Regions from separate parts of the Homo sapiens genome. Here all the other regions are linked to region 1. Evidence: promoter capture Hi-C in human tissues and cell types (Jung and others, 2019). All regions are on one chromosome and are shown on one strand. The core of a region is centred on a gene start or on the middle of the fragment in contact, and the rest is flanking DNA. Distances in the headings are between cores, read along the strand shown. Region 1 holds the start of DOCK7 (dedicator of cytokinesis 7). Region 2 overlaps DOCK7 (dedicator of cytokinesis 7). Region 3 overlaps DOCK7 (dedicator of cytokinesis 7).

Region 1 (5,044 bases), core at 1,329-3,828:
GTGAGGCCCAGGTCAAAAGACCCTTGAAACTGAGGGTGGTGGAGTGAGCTCCCCAGAAGTATAGTGGATTGACACCTGTGTGTGTGTGTGTGTGTGTGTGTGTGTGTGTGTGTGTGTAGGGGGTGGTATAGGGAGCATGGATGCTAGTCAGCTGAAGCAATTCCACTGTCACTCCCATTGCTGCGTTCCATATCTTTTCCTGACATTGAAACCCTGTGGGGCAGGGATACCAGCCAACATGACTTGGTCTGTGACTGCCAGCTCTTCCCCAGAGGTAGGGGGTCACCCTTCCTGCTTAGAGTGTTCCCCAGACTCTGAATTACCCTGCTTACAGCGTGATCCTGCTTGTCCTCTTCCTGCTCTAAATGTTTCCAGTAAGCTGCAGAGTACATGCAAAGTCCTTTCAGACACTTTGGCAACTAGTGAGTCATGTATACAAAGAACTATTCAAAGCAAAATGTGGCCAGTTCTCTAAGAGAGTAGTGAAAAGATGTTTGGAGAACAGAGATAAAGGCATGCAACATCTGGCTGGGAGTATGAGAGCAGACAACCAATTCAGGGACTATCAAACACCCAGGACAAGCTTAAGTATAGGATGAATAATGACAGTAACAGTGATAATAATAACAACAGCTGACACACATCGTACTTACCATGAACCAGGCCCTGTTCTAAGAACTTTATATTAATCAATTCAATAAATCTTCACAACACCCTTTCAAGTAGATATAATTATTTTCCTCCTTTTAGAGATGAAGTTAAGTAGCTTGCCTAAGGTTACAGAGTAAGAAAGTGGCAAAATAAGTCTGGGTTCCTATCACAGAGGGTCTTAAAAGCCAGGTACAGTGATAGCCTTGACTTACAGTCTGTGAGTACCTGGTTCATCTTTCCCAATGGACTCAAACATTCTGAGAGCAGGTCTGTGTCTAGTTCACCTTCGTGTTTTTTAGAACACCTAGGTGGGCTCTATACTTAGGTAGAAGCCAAATATCTGTCCTCTTTGAATAGACTATCTTTTCCTTTAGTAAACAAGCATCTGAAAACAGTGTGTTACTGGAGGGCGCCTTGGCAAGAGCCTGTGGTACTAGCTACTCCTCCAGAGGCTGAGGCAAGAGGATTGCTTGAGCCTAGGAGTTTTAGGCTGCAGTGCCCTATGCATTCCATGCTTGAGCAACACAGGGGGATTCTGTCTAAAATAAATAAATCAATAAATAAAAGCAGTGTGTTACTGCAATGAGCATTGTTATATAAATACACAGTCTTCCACAGAAGTTACAGCACTAGACAGGAAGTTATGGATCTGACTAATTGAGGCTTTCACCTCTGACTCAGTGTGTGACTCTGGCAAGTGACCTAATGGCTCCAAGCTACAGATTTTCCAATGGTAAAAGAGAGGAAAACAGGTATCCAACATATTCCACCAGGACATACTGAGAATATAATAATAACAATAAATAAATACACATTTTAAGTTCTTGCAATACTTAAGAGGAAAGGTACTACAAGAAACCAAGATATTTTTCTTAGTGTCACCATAATTTCAGTATCAACAGATATGCATTAGGAGCCAAATATTCTAGACATTATGGGATTACAACAGAACAGATGAAAACAAATCTCTGCTAGTCTCTGTTTTATAGGCTATTATGGACAAGGTCAGTTTCAGTGGTCAACACAGAGCTTATTTAACAGAACATCAAAATGGGGGTGAACGTTAGAGCTCACCTGGATTTTATATATATATATATATATATATATATATATATATATATATATATATATATGTATGTATGAGAGACAGAGAGAGATCCAAAAGGGGTTAATAATACGGAAACAACTGTCCTCAAAGAAAAGAACCGGCTCTGGGTTTGAGTCTCAGTGGAAGAGTTTACCATCTGTGCGACCTGGGGCCAGTCACTTAGCTTTTCCAAGCCAATTTCCTTCCCTCTAAAATAGTGATAGTAACGATCTACTTCAAAGCGCTCGTGCTTGAAAAACTTTAATCCAGTGGCTGGCTAAGCACCAGAAGTCAACTATTACTATTGTTATCGCTGCAGGAGCAAGGTATTTTCTGGCTCTTTCTCTATAAGAAAAACCACTGTTTCTCCAGTTAGGCTGCATTCATGAGGCCGAAGCAGAAACCCAAGTGCTTTAAAAAGCTCGGAGACCGGTGCTGCAGAAACATGAACCCAGTCATCCAGGGCTTTGGTTAAAGCACAGCCCCCTCGGCAAAGCCCACCTTTCATTTCCTTCCCTTCCATTTCGGGAAAGCCAAGCTCCCCCTACGCGTTCGGTTATCTTATTTTCTTGCCTCGCCAGGTCGCTGGCCTGTCTCTGGCTTCTCTCCGCGACCTCTCGGTCGTGCAGGCTCCGCGGCAGCGAAGCGGCTGGGGCTGGCGCCTCGCTTCCTCAGCGCTCCATTCTTCCCCTCGGCTCCCGCCGGCCGCAGCCGCCTTCCGCAGCCGGGGTTCCCGCCGGGATTGACGCGCTGGGGGAGGAGCGGTTTCTCGTTGCGCGCCTCTAAGGAACATTACGGCAGGGCTCGTTCCTGGCTCCGGCCGCCAGCCCCAGCCTCCCAGGTCCGGAGCCCGGACTGGCGGAGGCCGCGAGGGAGGGAGCACGAGCGAGGAGGCACGCGCCCGCCGGTCCGCACCCGGCCCGCCGCAGCCGCCGCCGCCGTCGCCGTCGCCGCAGCAGCCATGGCCGAGCGCCGCGCCTTCGCCCAGAAGATCAGCAGGTAAATATCCGGCGTGGGGCGCGCCGCCGCCGCCGCCCGAGAAAGAGCCGCGGAGTCCTCCCAGGCCTGGCCTAGGAGGCGGGTGGGTGTGGCGGGGCCGGCACCGGGATCCCGCGGCCTGGCTCGCGGCGGGGCGGAAGGGGTTCGGGGTGGCTGAGGGGGTAGCGGAGGCCTCGCGCCGCCCTCGAACCCCGGCCTTCAGCCCGCGCCCGCCGCTGAGCCTCGGCAGGGAGCGGAGAGGGCCGCGGACTCCAGCGCGCCCGCCTCCTCCTGCTCCTCGGCGGCCCGGGCCTGGACTTCTGCGGAGGTTTATGGAAGGGCGGTCGGCCGCTTCCCAAATTCTTTGTGTTCCCACCCCCGGGCTCGTCGGGGGCCGCCGCGGCGTTTCGCCCCCTCCCGTCTCTCCGCCCACCCCTCTTGGCCCCTAGAGGGTGCGGGGTCCGCCCTCCTCCACCCCAACAAAAGGAGAAACGCGCGGCGGCTCGGGGCGGGTGGGAGGCCGCCCCTCCTTCACGCGTCTCTCTCTTCCTGAGAAATCTGACAGGAACCCTCTTTGCACCCTCGGGCCAGGTTCAAAGTGGACTTGTGCGTCCAGGATTGAAAACGTGTGGACAGAATGAAAAGTTGAGAGCTGCGGGCTGCACCTTCGGTGTGCAGCTGCCGAATCCCTGACGGATTGCAGGCTGAAGCTTGTTCTGAGTTCGCCTGTGAATTTAACTGTGCGCCTGTGTTTCTCAGAGCACCCGAGAAGATGGATGATAGGCAGTGTTCTTTATACACTGACATCCTTTTATATGTTAGCAGTCTTGAAGTAAAGCAAGTGATTGCAGTCTTGAAGTAAAGCAAGTGATTGAGGTGGAGGTTTCAAAGCCTTTCACCTACTTGTGGTGGTTGGTTGCCACCTTTCTCCCACCCGCCAAATAAAAATTAAATGACAGAGGACTCTAATATTTGTAGAATTTCTTTGTGGAGTATACTTATGTATGAGACAGTAGACATTTTTGTTTTAATAAAATCATATTTGTGTGAATTATGATGTCCCAAGAAAAGAAGCATTCATATTAAATTACCTTTTTTTGTTTTGGGGCAGTTGTAGTTCTGTGGCTCTGAGTCTTTTTAGTTTGCTGACATTTCTTTAAAAATTTTGGGCCGGATGCAGTGGCTCAGGCCTGTAATCCCAGCAGTTTGGGAGGCCGAGGCAGGAGGATCGCTTGAGGCCAGGAGTTCAAGACCAGCCTGGGCAACATAGCGAGTCCCCCCCACCCCATCTCTGCAAAAAAATTAGCCAGGTGTGGTGTTGCACCTGTCGTCCTAGCTGCTTTCGAGGCAGAGGCTTTTTTTTTTCTTTCTTTCCAGCGTTCTAGCACTTTTTTTTTCCTGAAGGGGCAAAATAGCAAGTGTTTAAGAGCATGGGCTCTACTCTCAGACCCCGACATGGGTTCAAATCCTGATTGGTATTTTCTAGCTTGGGACTTTGGCCAAGTTGTTGGGCCAAATTTCCGTTTCCTCGTCTGGCAAATGAGAATAATAATAGGACCCAGCTCATAGTGTTGTTGTGAACATTAAGTGGCATAATTTGTGTAATGTGCGTAGGATAGTACAGGGCCTATACTACCTGTCATCAAACACTTGTAGTAATTAGTTTCTCCCAGGGAGTTATGATGACAGGAAATTTTTTTTTTTTGTAAAATAATTAGGTCTTACTTCTGATGATGATGTCATTAAAAAATGTTATTACTGGCCGGGCGCGGTGGCTCACGCCTGTAATCCCAGCACTTTGGGAGGCCGAGGCGGGTGGATCATGAGGTCAGGAGATCGAGACCATCCTGGCTAACAAGGTGAAACCCCGTCTCTACTAAAAAAAAAAAATACAAAAAATTAGCCGGGCGCGGTGGCGGGCGCCTGTAGTCCCAGCTACTCGGGAGGCTGAGGCAGGAGAATGGCGTGAACCCGGGAAGCGGAGCTTGCAGTGAGCCGAGATTGCGCCACTGCAGTCCGCAGTCCGGCCTGGGCGACAGAGCGAGACTCCGTCTCAAAAAAAAAAAAAAAAAAAAAAAAAAAAAAAAAAAGTTATTACTTGACATGTATTCCTAGTTTTAATTTCTCTTATTAGAACCAGAAGTTTATCTCTGAAAACATCATGCTGATAAAGTAAGTGCACTTTAGAGAGTTGGATATGAAATTGTATGTCTATTAGTGGAGTTCGCCACCAGATGGGATAGGACAAACCACAAGAGAAAAAGAGAATCAGTTGTGCAAAACAACACAAAATGCAAATAAGAACAGCTTTCTAAGAAGTTATAAAAT
Region 2 (5,044 bases), core at 1-2,500, 110 kb after region 1:
TCATGTTAGTTGTCAACAAAAACAAAATACTCCTCTTGAAACACCAGTTGGATATACAGTGAGTCCTTTTGGTTCAATATTTAGATCAAAGAGCTAAAATAATGGTGATATTTAAGATATAATTGATATTTCTGGTCATTTGTGGGTTTTTTTTTTTTTTTTTTTTTTGAGACAGAGTCTCTGTCTCCCAGGCTGGAGTGCAGTGGCGCGATCTTGGCTCACTGCAACCTCCGTTTCCTGGGTTCAAGCAGTTTTCCTGCCTCAGCCTCCTGAATAGCTGGGATTACAGGTGCCCGCCACCATGTCCAACTAATTTTTTTGTATTTTTAGTAGAGATGGGGTTTCACCATGTTTGCCAAGTTGGTCTCAAACTCTTGGCTTCAAGTGATCTGCCTGCCTCGGCCTCCCAAAGTGCTAGGATTACAGGCGTGAGCCATGGCGCCTGGCCTGTTTCTTGTTATTTAAATATTTCTTGTCTGATTCCCCACAGTTATGAAGTTGCATTGATTAGGAAGAGCCATTATAACAAGAAAATGCCCATTAATGTAATTAACTAATGTAATTAATTGATTTATTGACTAACACGTATAAACACTTGGGTGTTGGTCCTGATTATTAGGTGTATACCCAACAATGCAGTATAAATATAATAGGTTCATAGACTCTTCAGCAGATAATGATTTTATATAAAATGAGTAAAAGAGACTATTGGAGAATAAATTAAAACCCTTGAGTATTTTTCAAAATTATGCTTTCCAGCTTGGCATAACCCCATCTCTACCAAAAATACAAAAATTAGCTAGGCGTGGTGTCGTGCACCTGTGATCCCAGCTGCTAGGGAGGCTGAGATGGGAGGATTGCTTGAGCCCGGGAGGCAGAGGTTGCAGTGAGCCAAGATCATGCCATTGCACTCTGGCCTGGGCGATGGAGTGAGACTCTTGTCTCAAAAAAAAAGAAAAAAAAAATTACTATGGTTGAATTGCAAAGATAAACCTAAGATGAAGGAAGTCATGGTATAACACAGTTCTGTCAGAAAAATTATGCTTTCAGCCAGAAGAGAAAAGCCAACATTTGATTCATTATTTTTGTCTCTTGCAGTTTGTGACATGAGTTTTGCTCTAACTGTAAGAAAATAAATTTATGATCATACTTTTTGTTTCTATCATTCCTGTCTCAATCAATTATTTCTTTCACTATTTACATTGAAATGATTATCTCAGTTTTAAAATGGATTTACTTCATGGCTTTTTTCTAAGACCAACTTTTTGCCTCTAGATTTTAATATTGCATGGTTAGTAATAATAATGTTTTGGTGATATCCTCCTTAATAAAATTTCATTAGGGAAACTTCTCTTTAGAGGGATTATGAAGGCCTATTATTATTATTACTTGTATAATTAAATCCCTTAATGTTTGATGATATGGGACAAATTTGGCTTGTACCAAGTTCTTAAAACATGCTAAGTAATTATTTTTATAGCAAGCATATTTAAAATAAAATTGTTTTCTTTTCATTTAAAAGTGGATACCAATGCTTCAGAATGGACGGTTGAAGACTGGCCAGTTTTGCTTGCCAGTCTCATTGGAAAAACCACCACAGGCTTATTCTGTACTGTCTCCTGAGGTCAGTGTCTCCCATGTTGACTTTCTCCAGATTGAATGAAATGGGTTTTTTACTATAAAGATGTTTTTACCAAGCAAACTCTTGCCATTTCTTCTACTTAAAGTTTATAGATAATGAAGGAAAAGTATTTTCTCCCGTGGTTAAAATTCTTTTACATAAAACTTAAAAGCTTTTATCCTGTTTTTAAATTTAAATTTAAATTTCATTTTAAATGTAAATATCCTCATTTTAAAACCAAAATAATACATGGAATGTAAACTCAAAAGATCATTTTGGAGAATTTTCATACTGTAACTTGAGAAACTTCTTTAAATAAATGAATATTTCTTTTTTATTTTTAGTAGACTTAACATTTCACTAAAAGACTGGAGGAAGGAAAACAGATTTAAATTAATTTTTTAGAATCTTTTTGTAATTGAAGATCATGTGAATGAAAACAAAGTAGCTGTGAACCTGTAATACATGAGATATTGGCAACTTTGATGATTACATATGGGATTTGAAAGACTTGTAACACAAATATTGGAAAAATCTCAATCAAGAATCAATAGCCACCGTTCATAAACCAAAGTTCCTCTTGAGAGAAACACAATGGTTGTCAGTGTCTCTTAATGATTTTGAATATAACTGCTGGTAAATGTTACTCTAAAATACGTTTTGTGAATATTTTCCTGGTGCTATTTGTTTTCAGAATACAATTCAAAATGTATTCACAAATAAATTTTTATGTATTTTTATTTTTAAAAAACAATTCAAGGCTATTGCTCTGATCTTATTTCTCACTGTTCTCTGTCACTCACTTTTGATAGCCACATAGCACAGAGCCTCTGCTGTTCCTTACACACGAAAAGTGCATTTGCATTTCAGGCCCTTTGCTCTTCCCTCTGCTGGCAGTGCTCTATCACAAAGCCTGGTTCTTCATTTTACTCAGACCTCTACTCAAATATCACCTCACCAAGGAAGTCATCTATGATTATTCTAAATAGCAGCCTCTCCCACTTTATCTCTTTATTTTTCCTCATGTCATTTATCATTGACTTTGTATTTAAAATGTTTTTTGCTTATTTATTCTCTATAGAGTATAAACACTATGAGGGTAGGAACTTTGTCTGTCTTGCTCATTGCTGTCTACAAGTATTTAGAACAGTACTTGGCACATCATAGACACTCAATATATACTTATTAGATTAATGAATAAAGACAGTAGAGTAAGAAATATGACTCTCCCTCCTCCCAATCTTTCATTCATTTTTCCAGGGACACATCTTTTCAGTGATGACTTTTTCATGTGACTTTGTTATATAGAAAGGTGGCCATTTGTCAGAGAGCATTATGTTTCAAAGGAGATGTTTTAAAAGAAAATATATTTTTGTTGAAGTTAAGGATTTGTTTTTACTTAATTGCAGTGCAAGTTCAGCTTTCTAAAGGGAGACTCATGATTTTCTTCTAGCTACCATACTGTATATGCTCACAGATCAAGAATATGGTGATAATTTGGATTTGACTGTAGACATATAATATAGCTGCTTGATATGTGAAATAAGCCACCTGATTAAGAGCCAAAACTTTTGTAAACAGTTGACCCTTAAACAACATGGCAGTAAGGGGTGACATCCCTCCTCCCTAGCATGCACTTGAAAAATCCACGTATAACTTTTGACTCCCTAAAAACTTAACTGCTAATATAATAGCTTACTGTTGACTGAAAGCCTTACCAGTAACATAAACAGTTAATTAGCATGTATTTCGTATGTTAAATGTATTATATACCATATTCTTAAAGTGATATAGAGGAAAGAAAATGTTCTTAAGAAAATCATAAGGCACAGAAAATATATTTACTATCACTAAGTAGAAGTGGATCGTCATCAAGGCCTTCATCCTCATTGTCTTCATGATGGGTAGGCTGAGGAGGAGGAGGAAGAGTAGGGATTGGTCTTGCTATCTTAGAGGTAGCAGAGGCAGAAGAGGTGGAAGGGGAAGCAGGCACACTTGGTGTAACTTTACAGAAATACATCATAATTTCTGTCTGACATTTTTGCTTTTTCATTCCTCTAAAAATATTTCCAGAGCAGGATGCAGTGGCACACCTGTAATCCCAGCTTCTTGAGAGGATCACTCGAGTTCTGGAGTTCGAGGCTGCACTTTGCTGTGGTTGTGCCTTTGACTAGCCAGTGCCCTCCAGCCTGGGAAACATAGCAAGACCCCATCTCTTTTAAGAAAGTGTTTCTGGCCAGGTGTGGTGGCTCATGCCTGTAATCCCAGCACTTTGGGAGGCCGAGGTGGGCAGATCACCTGAGGTCAGCAGTTCAAGAACATCAGGGCTAACATGGCAAAACTCCTTCTCTACTAAAAATACAAAAAATTAGCCAGGTGTGGTGGCAGGCACCTGTAATTCCAGCTACTTGTGAGGCTGAGGCGTGAGAATCGCTTGAACCCGGGAGGCAGAGGTTGACAGTAAGCCGAGATTGTGCCACTGCACTCCAGCCTGGGCGGCAGAGTGAGACTCTGTCTCAATATAAAAAAAAGAAAAAAAATATTTCTATGTGGTGCCAATCTTTATTCGTTTGTTTTAGTTTTAGTGCCCTTAGCACAGATGGGTCCATGTTTTAAAAGAAGTCAAAAGCAGTCTTGAATAACCCTTCTGCCATGTTGTATAATGTCAGTTTGTTTTCTGACACTGTTTCTTCTATGTTTGCTGCCTCAATGTCTGGCACTGGTTTAAAAGCACTCATCTCCATCAAGTCTTCTTCTATTAATTCCTCCAGTCTGGTGTCTATGAGCTTGTGAGTTTCTCCTTGGAAATCTATACCCCTCACTTTTTTTTTTCCTTTTTGCCATATCCACAATTTATTTCATGATTTTCTTGATTGGCTCTGTCATAAAGTCTGTAAAGTCATGACAACCTCTGGACACAGTTTTCTCCAGCAAGAATTTATTGTTTCAGGCTTGATGGTTTTTGTTAGAACAATGATAGCATTTTCAGTGGTATAATCCTTCCAAACTTTAATGATGTTCTATTTATTGGGGTTCTCTTCATAGCATTCACACTCCTTTCCGTAGAGTACCGTGTGTGATGAATCTTAAAGATCCTTGTGACTCCCAATCTAGAGGCTGAATTAGAAACATGGCATTTAGGGGCAGGTAGAAGACTCTGATGCCTTCTGTGTTGAACTCATGGGGTTCTGGGTGGCCAGTGGCATTGTCTAATATCAAAATAACTTCAAAATGCCGTTCCTTACAGCCAAGGTACTTCCTGACTCCTCCCCTTTTCCATACTCTTCTTCCTTGTAACTGTATAAAATTAGGATTTTTAAAAATTATGGTAAAAATGCTTGGCATGGTGACTCATACCTATAATCCCAGTGCTTTGGAAGGCTGAGGTGGGAGCAGGAGTTCGAGTTTACAGTGAACCTTGAT
Region 3 (5,044 bases), core at 1,675-4,174, 84 kb after region 1:
TTTATTTTTGGTATGTTGAATTTGAGTGAAGTATAGGGTATTGAAGGGAGAAATGGCAAATAGGCAATGTAAGAAGGGGAACTGGAAAGAGACTTGGGATGAATATGTAGATTTTGGAACTTTATTCATGGTAAATAAAGGAGTCCGTGAGAGCAGATAGAATGTCTGAGGGTCAGTGTAGAAAAGATGATTGAAGGTTGTCCATTGGCCCACAGTACTAAATATGAGAAAGGAATAGGGTTATAAAGATGGATTCAGATAAGGGATAATCCATGGAGAGTATAGTATTGTGAAAGCAAAATGAAGGTCAAGTTTGAAAAAAAGATATTCTTATTATTAAGTAGTAGAGAGATAAAAGGGAAGGTAGTCTGAGAGATCAAAGGGGATTAGACTTAGATTAGACAACTGTGAGTAGTGATGGAATTTGAGCACTTTAAGCAAAGTAGTTAGGACAGGAGACAGTCGTGTGAACCATAAAGAGCTCCTTTCTCTTCTTCTACCAGAAGTATCTTTCTGGTAGAAAAAAGCTTTATATGGGGAAAACGTCTAATTTACTACTCCTGAAAGGAACAAAATGAAACATGTCCTATGAGAGTTTTTTTTTTTTTTAAGGAAACCAAATAGAGGAAGCAACTCATATATTAAATAATGAATTATTTTGCATTTGAAATTGTCCAATTTTGGGGGAAGAGAGGAGCCATTTTGGTATTCTGGCCCTAAAAAAATCAGCGTTAATTTCGACAGCTTAGTCTGTGGTCCTGAAAATTATAGATTATTTTTACCTTTATTATTTTGTACTTTTCTGGAACAAAATATTTACTTAGGATTCACATAGATCATACATATCTTTTATATATGTGACATATAAAAATATATATGACATGTATATTGGATAATTTGAAATACATAATGCTAAGTATTGACAAAGGTAGGTCACCATATAACTTGGGCACTATATCCTTTAACAAATGGGTTTAATTTAAAATTTCTTACTGGCAGTTTTAAAAAATCATATTTAAAAATAAATTCTGACAAGTGATACTGTGGTAAAAAATTTGTATCTAATCTTTAGGGATTTAGGGATTTAGGGATCTGTTGTGATGTCGATAAACATGCAAGAATAATTTAAATTTCTATAATTTAGGGACTGGGTCTTTGTTTATTGAATTTTAAACATATATACATGCTTGTCAGGCTGTTTAAACGTTCAGTAACTTGTTACGAGGTTTATTTCTACTTGAAAACCTACACGAATGTATTAGAATCACAGCATATTTAGGGGAAATATAAACTTTAACTCGATGCCACAAATATGTTCATTCTTACTGTAATCTGACAAGATTCCTTTACAATTATTTGTTTTCATAGTATTAAGTGTTAAAATATATAAAATGTATACAGTATATATTTTAACAAATAAGGTATAGTGATACCTCATGTTAAAGTCAATGTGACTTAGTAGTCATCTCCATTTGTTTAAAGACAGCGAACTTATTTTAATACAGTATTTAATTCTGCTTCATTAGGTTTCATAAATAAATCATATCAAACATTTACTCCAAATTATTTTGTAGCAAAATGAAGCATCAGTTTAAAAATTTGTATTACAGATTTTTACACATACTCTGTGCTGACGATTTTTAGTTTTGAAATTAATACTACAACATTTAAGAACTGTACAATTACCAGTCCTCTGTATTTAGTCAAGTTTAGAGTTTTAACAAGAGTACTAGTTTTTTAAACTGGGAAAGTTGTGATATTAGCTCATATGATGCCTTTTAAAATAAAAGTCTCTAAATTTTTTATTTAGAAAAGTTATTTAATAAGTTCACCTATTGATTATAATCTAGATTGTGACCATCTAAAATTGATTCCCACATCACAAAATTTAAAACAAATAGTATTATAAGAATTTTGATTGAGAAATGTAAACGGTATTCTTTAAGGTTATGTGATTGTATGTTTAATCTTAAATAGACAGTGACTTTAAGATAAAAAAAATCTATTTCTCAAGCTTTCTCTTAAGGATTTAATACCAGATTATTAGACCACATTAACTTGGAATGAGGTTAATGTTTAAATTATTGCCTTTTAAATTTGCCTCAGTTCATTCAAAGCTTTCTGAATCTGTTGGATGGATCAACATTTTGGTTGATTTTATAGAGTATAACCTTCCATTTTGAGACTTCCAAGATAATCCTCTTCTCCTCTCTGGCTTAGATTTTGCTCTTGGTTTGTTATATTTACCATTTAGGTTGTTTTCTCCACACTCATCATGCCACCACCAGCCTCCTAAAGGAGATAGATATGCAATTTAATGGGTACAGACTCGTATGTAGTTACTGTTACTGTATTTCCCCGTAAGTTTATCTTCCTTTCTTATAAATATTACAGTGTTTTAGATGCATGTATCCCAGTTTTAAATAATCTGTATAAGTCCCAATTTTAAATAATCTGTATAAATAATCTATACACTACCAAAAAATAGAAAATCTGAGGAAGATTAGAGGTAAAATACCTGATTGAACTAGAATGAACACTTTCATTATAGTTAAGAGGTTTTCGTCTAGAGAGAAAACGCTTATTTGGGATTCGGATTTTTAAAAGTTGTCATTGCAGATAATAGCTAATAATGTGGGAAGATACTTTGAAGATATGAAAATAAAGTATTGGTATCAGAAAAAGATACCTGAATAACCCTCTGGACAGTTGAAGTGTCCTTTTGCTTTGTGATCCCAAGTAGAAAACACCAAATCTTTGTTTTCCGGGATTGCATTGGGGACATTGCCAGTAATCGCAACTAGATGTAGCGTATAGTTGGTTTCGTGATTTCCCAAGTAAAAAGAATATTCAATATAATGTTTGTTGTCTTTCCAGTCTTCCAACTCAATTCGTAAAACATAATTAGATTGCTTCACTATGGAGTATATCTTCTCTAGGCCCAACCAAAATTCTCCTGAAAAGAAAAGTTTTAAAAATCTGTGAGTTATTAAGTACAGGTTGGACACTGACAGTTTTTTTAAGTGTTTTTTATTGGTGCAACTAATTGAGTTGTTTAGTCTTGAATCCCTTGATCATTTTAGTGTATCTTAAAATAATACCTTTTAAAACAATTTTATTGAAGATAGCTATGTGCACAAAAATGTTAAAAATATTAATATAACTGAAAGTCTGATTATCCTTTCTATAATGCATATGACAAGACATGTTTCACCAGTGAAATGTGTTACATTATTATAGATATTTTAAAGTCTCGTCATTGGTAGAGGAATATTTGCAAGTCTTTATATGGATAAACTTTACTGTCAGCTATTTATTAACATCCATATACAGTCAAGAGATGTGTTAAGTATTCCTAGAGACTTGAGTAATAATAATGTCACTTTCTTCAAATGTAAACCTGGCCTTTGGTATTTGCTTAATGTATGCTTTCTTTGTAGAAAAAGACAGGAATAAATTTAAAAAATCATTTTAAATTTAAAAGCATGGTTCTTAATAACTTTTTTCTGTAATTTTAAAAATTATTTTTATTGGAATTAAAAACAAATAACAAATATAAATAGATTGTTCTTCATCACAATCCTTTTTATTAAAGTATTTATAAAATACTGTTTTCATTAAACATTCACTATTGTCTTATTGCTATTGAGTTAGTAGGAAGCTTCATTTTAAGGATTGCTGGTAAATACAAGTACAAATGGGTTGCTTTCTTACCAGAATTAAGTGAGTATTCTCGACTTACCTGTCAGCCTTTTATTTTGGGGTTACACTCACTATTAGAAGATTTGGAGCTACAAAACTTATCACTGAGTATACCTTCTAGGTAGGGCTTTCACTGGTAGTTTGAATACAAAATTTTTAAATGGTCAAATAGTACTGAGCATTTAAAAATTTGATATAATAATGAATGTCTTCTACTTTATAAGTGAGTACTTAGACATCATTCATGGATTTTTGTATGTGCTTTTTGGATTTTAAACATCTGTTATTTTATCTTGCTTATTTTACTATTTGTAATCAAAATAGAATAATTTGCATTGAGTTAACTAATTCATTATAAGCCATACATTCTATATATTATATTTAAATAATTGAAATTTTAAAATGTATACTGTATGTCTGAGTTTCCTGGTCCTTTTAACTTCCAATTAATTGATATGTAAAACGTTAATGAGAGAATAGAGTGACTAATGCTAGGAGTGGTTCTTTTCACAGCTTATTTGTAACAGTTACTACTTATGACATAACATTTAATCAAAATTGTCTTTAATAATTATAGTTATGATCATTGTAAGCCGTGGAATTAAATTGTGATAAGTATATTTAAGAACAGACATGTAATTGTGATAAATATAATTCAAATAATAACAGTTGTAATAAGTGTAATTTACTAACAAATGTGTAATTGTTTGATAATAAATTATATGAAGGCTGAGACTGCTTCTCGTTCGTTACTACTTTTCCTAATACCTGGTCCATAAGAGGTTCTCAGTAAATATTTGTAGATTAGCAAGTGAATGAATGATTGAATGTAGTCCCCTTACCATCAAGCCTCCCAAAACCATATTTGTAGTTCTCCCACGTTTCATTGAAGTTTTGTGATCCATCTATTCGATGTTGAATTAATGTCCATGGACTACCTGAATATAATGAATGAAATCATGTATTTTTAGTAGATTTATGTTGACAGATGTAAATAACACTTTTTTGTTTGTTTGATTTTAATTGGTGGTTTTGTAAGGTAGTTTATTAATGTTATGGCAATACATTTTATTATTTATTATGGTCCCAAAAGTTAAGTGAAAGGCAATTAATGAATTTTGGCATAGTAAACTTATTGATAATAGTCACTTCAGATTATTTTAGAGGAAAAGGAGAATATTGAGTAAATACATAAACAAGGTAAAAGTATTATATTTATACGAATACTCATATATATTTCATATATATATGTATAAAACAATGATAACCAGGTTAATCTTCCTAATACGTAATGAGTAAGTTGAACTAACTACTGTCTATTCTCCTTAGACAGGTTTTACCT

The links. Contacts are between HindIII fragments. The study calls those that stand out against the background at their distance.
Region 2: a fragment that was not itself captured here is called in contact with the fragment with the promoter of DOCK7 in region 1 in 4 of the 25 tissues and cell types used here (bladder, hippocampus, psoas muscle and 1 more).
Region 3: a fragment that was not itself captured here is called in contact with the fragment with the promoter of DOCK7 in region 1 in 11 of the 25 tissues and cell types used here (IMR-90 fibroblasts, aorta, bladder and 8 more).

Annotation. Positions count from the first base shown.
Region 1 is chr1:62,685,920-62,690,963 of GRCh38, reverse strand. It overlaps DOCK7 (dedicator of cytokinesis 7), which reads left to right and starts at 2,578. Exons shown (of 50, transcript NM_001367561.1): 1 at 2,578-2,737. The coding sequence starts at 2,700. DOCK7-DT (DOCK7 divergent transcript) reads right to left here and starts at 2,482. Exons shown (of 2, transcript NR_185999.1): 1 at 2,312-2,482. RefSeq lists an enhancer at 1,172-1,466 and a silencer at 2,476-3,225. The HindIII fragment of the contact is 7,491 bases long and covers 1-4,709 here.
Region 2 is chr1:62,573,842-62,578,885 of GRCh38, reverse strand. It overlaps DOCK7 (dedicator of cytokinesis 7), which reads left to right. Exons shown (of 50, transcript NM_001367561.1): 17 at 1-58; 18 at 1,523-1,624. Among named protein-coding and RNA genes, the nearest start is that of ANGPTL3, 21 kb to the left of the region's middle. The HindIII fragment of the contact is 4,591 bases long and covers 1-3,545 here.
Region 3 is chr1:62,601,881-62,606,924 of GRCh38, reverse strand. All of the region lies in intron 14 of DOCK7 (dedicator of cytokinesis 7), which reads left to right. It overlaps ANGPTL3 (angiopoietin like 3), which reads right to left. Exons shown (of 7, transcript NM_014495.4): 4 at 5,043-5,044; 5 at 4,545-4,640; 6 at 2,690-2,956; 7 at 612-2,292. The coding sequence ends at 2,108. Among named protein-coding and RNA genes, the nearest start is that of ANGPTL3, 6.9 kb to the right of the region's middle. The HindIII fragment of the contact is 5,855 bases long and covers 1-5,044 here.